Linked DNA regions of Homo sapiens: regions 1 and 2 are each linked to region 3. The links are contacts of gene promoters, found by promoter capture Hi-C in blood cells and fetal thymus (Javierre and others, 2016). All regions are on one chromosome and are shown on one strand. Each heading gives the region's core, a stretch centred on a gene start or on the middle of the fragment in contact. The rest is flanking DNA. Distances are from core to core; before and after follow the strand shown.

The links. The method cuts DNA at HindIII sites, captures the fragments that hold promoters and counts their contacts. A CHiCAGO score of 5 or more calls a contact.
Region 1: a fragment that was not itself captured here is called in contact with the fragment with the promoter of CPA4 in region 3 in 2 of 17 cell types (megakaryocytes and M0 macrophages); the score reaches 6.3 in megakaryocytes.
Region 2: a contact is called between a fragment that was not itself captured here and the fragment with the promoter of CPA4 in region 3, in 1 of 17 cell types (endothelial precursors). The highest score is 5.1, in endothelial precursors.

What each region holds. Positions count from the first base shown.
Region 1 is chr7:130,508,909-130,511,608 of GRCh38, forward strand. All of the region lies in intron 20 of COPG2 (coat protein complex I subunit gamma 2), which reads right to left. Among named protein-coding and RNA genes, the nearest start is that of MIR335, 14 kb to the left of the region's middle. The HindIII fragment of the contact is 1,333 bases long and covers 752-2,084 here.
Region 2 is chr7:130,472,231-130,474,930 of GRCh38, forward strand. No RefSeq gene overlaps it. Among named protein-coding and RNA genes, the nearest start is that of MESTIT1, 17 kb to the right of the region's middle. The HindIII fragment of the contact is 1,317 bases long and covers 621-1,937 here.
Region 3 is chr7:130,291,711-130,294,410 of GRCh38, forward strand. It overlaps CPA4 (carboxypeptidase A4), which reads left to right and starts at 1,451. Exons shown (of 11, transcript NM_016352.4): 1 at 1,451-1,538. The coding sequence starts at 1,471. RefSeq lists an enhancer at 1,856-1,945. The HindIII fragment of the contact is 9,413 bases long and covers 1-1,961 here.

The DNA of each region.
Region 1 (2,700 bases), core at 168-2,667, 220 kb after region 3:
CTCTATTGGTATGAAGAAAGCAGCAGAGAGGTACTTTTGGGGGCTTTTTGCCATGCCTATCAAAGGGGCCTAAATGTTGAAAAATAAATATTTTGAGAACCACTGCTGTAGGACCTGACCAAAAAAAAAAACAAAAAAAAAACCTGTGGTAAAAAGCATACAGATCATCAGATTAACATTGACCAATCTCATCAGCATCTCAATACTATCTTTAGATTGTGGACTGATGGCGGGTCCACAGATCACCAGAGAGAACTTGCTTTATCTGTCAACCTTCAGCCTAAAGTGAGTAGGTCAGTAATGAGTTTCTAGTATTGGTAAAGTCAGTGTCTTAAATGGAAAAGCAAGTGGGCAGTTGTATGTTTTCACACAAGTGGTGTTAAGTAATAAGAAATGGAGGTGGGGGTACATTTTTGGAAAGTGAAGTCTTTATAAAAAGTAAAGACAGTATTTTCTGAAATGTTTGAAGGAGGGGATTTAGCAAGCAGGGATGAAGAAAAGGCATTTAGGATCTTGTCTATGGTCTGGAAAAAGCTTATAGGTACAAAAAATATTAGATATTGGGAGAGTTAAAAAGTTATTTGGGGGATAGGCAAGGAGAGGAAAGAACAGGCTCAGATGTGAAGACCATATACGACAGATTGGGTAATAAGACTTTCATCTGCTCAGTCTTGACTTTAAATTCCATCCATTCATCCATCCACACATGTAGTGACTGTCAATACATGTTGACATTACACGTAAAGGTATAAGCTTATGTGCCAGACACTTGGATAAAAAGATGACTGAGACATGATCTCTGTCTCTAGGAGCTGTCTAGGAGTTAAATAAGTGTGTGGGCTGTGTGTGTGTGTGATCTATCTATGACTTTACAACTCAATGCCATAGATCCTTTAAGTTTTAAGAGAGTGCCATGTGAGGGTGCGGGATTAACAAATAGCCTGGGAAAACTGTAAAAAATGTGAAACGATATAATAGTTTAACTGGCTCTCAAAAGATGCAAAAGAGCTTTGGCAAGCAGAGGAAGATGTACAAACAGGCAAAAGGAAAGAGGCCAGAAAGTCCACCGGGCAGCTGGAAACAGTAAGAGGCATGCTAATGCCTAGGTGCTGAGAAGATAATTTGTTTAGGAATAAATTGTAAAATACCTTGTATTTCAAATGATTTTCCAACAGGCTCTGGTGAGCTGAGGCAGTCAAGAGATTGAAAGGTTAGAGATAAGCTAGATAAGGTGCCTAATTTAAGCCACTGGTGGGGACTATGAAGAATGGGTCTGAATTCAGAGAGCAGATGGATTCAACAGAATATGCTGAAAACAGACGATGGCAGTGGGTTTTCCCATATAGGAAAGAATGAACCTATCAAGCCTGCAGAATCAATTTCAATGCCATTAGGGGTTGAGAAAAGAACGACTGTGGTTTAATTAGGATAGGATTTTCTTCAGAGAGAAGGGGAAAGAAGTGAAAGTTAACACAAGGCCAGAACAGGTCAGGTGAGGCATTTTTTTTAAACCATGAAAGAGATACAGAATATGGTAGGGGAAAAGGTCATGATCAAGTTAGAATGAAGAGTCAGGAGAGACATTAATTATAGCAACCCAGTGTGGTTCCAATTAAGCAGAGAGGCTACAGCAAATGAGGAGGACAAAGAGACAACATCAGGTATGAAGGCAGATCACAGACTGGGCACAGGGGCTGAGTTTTATGTGGAGGTAAAGACAGAAGACACTTACATATAAGGACCTGATACAGAGAAAGAGATTAAGGAAGTAAATAGGAATGGTGTTAGTAGAGATAATGTTCCTGAAACCTTAGTGGGAATTTTTTTACTTAAATGGTTTGATTGATACAATGAGAGGTTACAGGGATCTAAGGAAGTCTAGGCAGTAATCTGTCGAAGCTGCTGGAGAGGATGACGAAATGGGGCGAGGAGGCAAGATGCGGGGGCCTTTCCATGGCAAGAAAATACTGAATGCACTGCCATAATGTAAATATGAGAGTTACACAGACAAAGCAAGGCAAATACCAAAGAGAATCAGGAAAGAATGCCCTGAAGATCTGCATTAAAACTGTTCTCTGAAATTAAGCTTGTCTTGTGAGGATTCACTGAAAATGAGAGTCAACCACTAAGGAGATTTGTATGAAAAGAACCCAGCGAATTAGAGAAAAGATAGATGCTGGCAGCTAAGACAGGAGAGGGACATGTGAGTTGGGCCAGGGTACAGAAAATGCAGTGTGGCAAAGGGCAGAGTGGGAAAGGTGGGAGGGAGCTGCCAGGTCTCAACCACCTGGGGGAGACCATGACAAAGTAAGAGACACTTATGAGGTATTTCCAGAAAGCTTTGTTAGAATAATAATTAAAGAAAAGGGTATGTCACTAGGGCAAAAGATTAGAAAGAAGGCAAAAGAGATGGATCTGTACAGGCTAACTGCAGCAGTCTATGCAGGTCTGGACTGAACTGAGAAGCAATGGGTGCAGCATAGTGTGTAGGACATCGAGGAAAGCTGGGCAGTGAGTGCCAAAATAAGCAATACACACCTACCTGGAAAATCGTGTTGAGTCTGTGGGAATGCTGTACAAATGGTGGGAGGGAGTTTTTCTCTAGGACAAATTCAGAAAGGGAAGGAGGAATGGTACTGGAAAGCAACATTAGAGTTGTCCTCAGATGAAAAGGAGTTGGTCACTAAGGAATGACACACA
Region 2 (2,700 bases), core at 29-2,528, 180 kb after region 3:
TCCCTCCCTCCCTCCCTCCCTCCCTTCCTTCCTTCCTTCCTTCCTTCCTTCCTTCCTTCCTTCCTTCCTTCCTTCCTTCCCTTTTTCTTAGAGATAGGGTCTCACTTTGTCACCCAGGCTGGAATGCATGCTGTGATCATAGCTCACTGCAGCCTCAAACTCCTGGGCTCAAACAATCCTCCCACCTCAGCTTTCCAAACAGTTAGGACTACAGGTACATGCCATCATACCTGGCTAATTAAAATTTTTTTTTTTTTTTTTTTTGTAAAAAGAGGGGTCTCACTATGTTGCTCAGGCTAGTCTCAAACTCCTGGTCTCAAGCCATTCTCTTGCATCGGCCTCCCAAAGCACTAGGATTACAGGCATGGGCCACTGCGCCTGGCCTATTATGTAGTATTAAATGCTAAGAGGAGGATATTGAATGTTCCCAACATTAAGAAATGATAAATGTTTGAGATGATGCATATGCTAATTACCCTGATTGGCTCACTATACATTATATGCATTGAAACATCACTACATACCCCATGAATATGTAAAGTTATTAAATGTCAATTAAAACTAAAAATAAATAAAAAGTATATCATCAGTATTTACCTAAGAGAAATATGTCCACACAAAGCTTTGTACACAAATGTTCATAATAGCTTTATTTATAGCAATCCAAAATGGAAGCAACCCAAATGTCTTCCTGTAAGTCACTAGGTAAATGAATAAATAAGTAGTTGATGGCTACATAGTTGATTCCATATAAGGAATACTACTCAGCAGTAACAAATAATACACTATCTATACACCCAGCAACATGATGGATCTCAAAATCATGTTGAGTCAAAGAGGCCAATCAAAACAGAATACATACTGCATGGTTCCATTTATATAAAATTCTAGAAAAGGAAAACTAACCTATAGTGATAGAAATTAGATCAGTGATTACCTGGGGATGGGGGAAGCAAATAACAGATTGTGAAAAAGGAAGACAGATGGATTACAGAGGACCATGAAGAAATTTGCGGAGTGGGTAATGGCTTTGTTTATTATCTTGATTATTGTGATGATTTCAGGGGTATACACATATGTCAAAATTCATGAAATTACACACTTTAAATATATGTGGTTTATTGTACAACAGTTATAGCTCAATAAAGCTGTTAAAAACTCACCAGAAATGAAAAATGTAGAGAGGGCTGAGGACAGCTTTAAGTGGATGTTGGTCTCTGGCAGTCATTTATCTCTGCCTCCCCTACTTGCCTTGTTCTCATTTTTGGATTTCCTGTGCCTCTATTCTTCCTCATTTTGGCTGTGCATGTTCACTTTTATTTCCTATTGCTGTGTCAACAGTTTGTGGGGTTAGAACTTGGAAAGGGTACTGGGTCTCTTTACTCTTTTCTTAAGCCCCTATTTTGTCCCTAGTTTGCCTTTGGTCATTTCCAAAGCTAAGAACATTTCCAGAGCAACAATTTTGGTTCCCTCTCTGTATCTTGTATATAGTCCCTGATCTAATAGGCTGAGGTCCTTCCACTGTCTCTGTATAACAGTTTTAACAATTTAATGGTGACAAGAATTGGCAGTTTGTTTGTTTGCTTGTTTTTAATGCCCTTGAATTTTTAGCTGTAAAACTCCATCCCTGGACTGCGGAAACATGAAGATAGTCTCACCTCTGATCATGGTCCAGGCGCCTATATTCATGGCTTTGGGCCCCACCTCTTAGCCTTCATATACAACTTTGTTTCTTTTTCCAGGAGTCATTTTAACCAATTCCACAGCTTTCAGCTGCTTCATCTTGAGAGCGGAGAGTGCTGTACTCATAGCAGGCAGCTCTCCCAGAGCAATTTACGGCTTCACAGTTCTGCAAATTACAGTCATTTGCAATCTTCTCCATTAGTGCCCTGACCCCATCCAGCTATGTCTGCATGTTTTTGGTTCCTGATGTCTGAAGCTTCTTGTTGCTTTACTATCTGATCTCTCCAAGCTGAAAATGTTCCTTTTCCATTTTCTGGGGGCCTTCTGATATGTAGACATGCTCGCTATTAAGATCATAAGGTCACATTTGCTTGTTTTTTTGTTCTTGAGTTTGCTAATTCTTCCATTTACAAACTTGTAGTTTTCCAGAACTAGTTTTCCTATAGGGAAGAGATTATCAGTGAATTCTGATTCTTCCCAGAGCCTTATTACTTAAACCAGTCCTGTCTACCTCTCTTCTATGGGCTGGGTAATCTTGCTTAAAATCTCTTCCACCATCAGTCCAACGCCTCTGTGAAACCCAGGCTTGGTTTCTTATGTCTCCCCTTGAGTGAGTCTTGCCATTTGTCTACCTGTCTAGGCTGACCTAGTGGTTTCAAGGGAGCCCTGCTCCCCAGCAAGCTTCTACTCAGCGGCCATGAGAAGCAAGTCAGGGATGCTTTTTTGGGGTGGTTCTCAAACTTTAGCGTGCATCGGGATCACTTTGAGGGCTTGTTGAGACACAAATTGCTCCATCCCCAGAGTTGCTGATTGGGAAGATGGAGCATTTGCAAATTACCAAATCCTCAGGTGATGCCGATGCTGCAGGTCAGAGGCCAGCACTGCTGACTGGGAACCCTGTGTTGGTCCATAGTCAGCAATTGTCCAGGGTCTGTCTCCCTGTGTTATCCAATGATCCCATTTATTTTTCCTTTGTTGTTGGCTACTGTTTTTAGCTCCACGTTTGTCCTTTGTGTT
Region 3 (2,700 bases), core at 201-2,700:
CCAGCCTGAGCAAAGATCCTGCGAAGTCATCCCTCCCACCTTGATATCTGATCAAGTTCCTCATCCCCACCTTTGATGGGGACTTTGATGTATAAGTCCTTGGCCTGCTTTTAGCAAGAATCCCCCTACCTTGATGTCTTCTCTTAGTAATCCCACTGATCCTCTCTGTTTTCTTTGCCGTATTCAGTGTTAAGCACAGTAAGTCTTTCCTACTGAAATAGCCATGGTCCTAATCATAATAATCTTGAATTAGGTCTTACATTTTAACACAGGTCAGGATAGTTTTTCTTTAACTCTCTCAACTATGACCCTTGGTTGTGTCCACTCCCTTTGAGTGGGTGTGGAAAGCATGTAGACCGTAGGGAGGGTGGGATGGGAAAGGCTGTGGGAACTGGGGCTCCCAGGACAGACTCAAAGGTCCCAGAGCCCCTGAAGGCGTTATGGAGATATGAGTGTCTTCCATTTATTCAGCTGTGACTTGGCGGAAAGGACACCAGACCCACAGTCTAGGAAGTATAAGAAAATCTTATTATTTATTTATTTATTTATTTGAGATGGAGTCTCACTCTGTCGCCCAGGCTGGAGTGCAGTGGTGCGATCTCGGCTCACTGCAAGCTCCGCCTCCCAGGTTCACGCCATTCTCCTGAGTAGCTGGGACTACAGGCGTCCGCCACCACGCCCGGCTAATTTTTTGTATTTTTAGTAGAGACGAGGTTTCACTGTGATAGCCAGGATGGTCTCAATCTCCTGACCTCGTGATCCGCCCACCTCGGCCTCCCAAAGTGCTAGGATTACAGGCATGAGCCACCTCGCCCGGCTGAAAATCTTATTATTGATAAAACCATTAAGCCTTCCCCATAGATCAGACCCCAAGGAACACTGATAATTTATTCAGACTAAAACATCCTTTCTATATCATTTGCCTGATACATTTCTATTTCCTTAGTGGAGTCAGAAGAATTAGGCTTCAGATACATAAAAGAGGCCCCAAACCTCTTTCCTCATCCTGACCTGCCCTGGTGAAATTCTCTGGCAGGGCTTGTCAAGCATGTGGTCTTGGAGCCAGCTCAGTCTTGCTTTGATAGTCTTAACTTTTTTATTATTATTCTAGAGGTAATTCTATGCCAGGTTTATAATCTGACCTCTCCTATCAGGATAAATTCCATCCAACACTGTGGAATTAGCTTATTCACTGAAAAAACACTATTTAAATGCCAAGTGATGAGCAATATGGTACCCTTGGCACAGACTTTTTCAGCTCCTGGAGCAAGTTCCTGACCTTGTAAATTGAGATGCTCAACCTTTATCACTTGAAAGGAATGGGAGAGGCATTGGTAGGGCCTGCCTGTCACAGTCAGAGTTGCAAGGGTGCTTGGGAATCACATTAGCATTTTTGAGGACTTGAGTCACTCTCAGACTCTTTATAAATACAGCTTGACTCAGCCACTGTATGACTGACTCCCCGGGGACATGAGGTGGATACTGTTCATTGGGGCCCTTATTGGGTCCAGCATCTGTGGCCAAGAAAAATTTTTTGGGTAAGTTCCTTTTGGACTTATTATTTGGTTATTTCAGAAATATGGGAGCCAAATGGAACTGAAAATGAATGGCTGATAATAGCTCACATGGAGGAAGAAGACCTGGGCTCTTGTTCCAGCTTTGCCCCTGTGTCATCCTGGACAAGTCCACTCTCTTCTCTGAGACCCCATTTCATCTGTGAAATCAGGACTAGATGATCATTGCAGTCTCTCCCCAGCTCCCTCATCTCCTGCCAGTTCTTTTTCTGCCTAGTTCTTACTTATAAGGTCAGTTCCAGGCATCTACTTTCTTACTCCTACCTTATTAATTACTAAGAGTTACTGGTTACTAAGAGCTACGTTATTAATTACTAAGAGTTACTGGTTACCAGAAATGGTTTGTTTCCAATTTCCGCCATGCATAAAGGGAAACCCTGGGTCTCAAGCTTGTTGGTTTCACTTCTTTGTTAATGGCGAAGGCTTTGCAGAGCTGGTGCCTTCTCTTGATCTGCAGTTTAATGCTCTACCCCTGAGCTACACCCTCTTCTGAGCTGGTGCTTTCTTACTGGCTTCTGGGACGTGGAGATTTCACAGGTCTTGCCTAGACACAGCTATGAAAATGACATGCAGAGACACATGCCTGAACACCGTGTGTGTGTGCGCGTGTGTGTGTGCACACACACACGTGCTCAACACGCTCCATGCAGAATACTTTGAGGTTTGCAGGGGAGAGGACATTTGGGTGGTAGGAGAGATAAAAGGGATACCATGGTGCCCTGTTAGAAGACTGAATTATAATAACTCATTACTGCATAATACTTTACCATTTGCAAAGAGCTTTCATGTACATTATCTTTTTGATCACACAACAACTTTGCCAGGCAGGGGTGTTATTTTCTTCCACTTAAACATGAAAAAAATCAGCCTTAGAATGTTAAGGAACGCGCTCAAGGCCACTTAGCTGGGAAGCAGGGGAGCTGGAACTCTGAACGTAAAACTCGTACCCTTTTGCTATAACACAAGTTCATCTCCAAATAAAATCCTATATCTCTTGGATCTGTCTCTTAGTTTTCTTTCTATTTTACTATCTGGCTAATGAGACTTTGGGGTTGTTTTTTGAGGTAATTACTTATATGAGATTGACTAAGTTTTATGATGATGACTTCTGTTCACACCTGTGTCT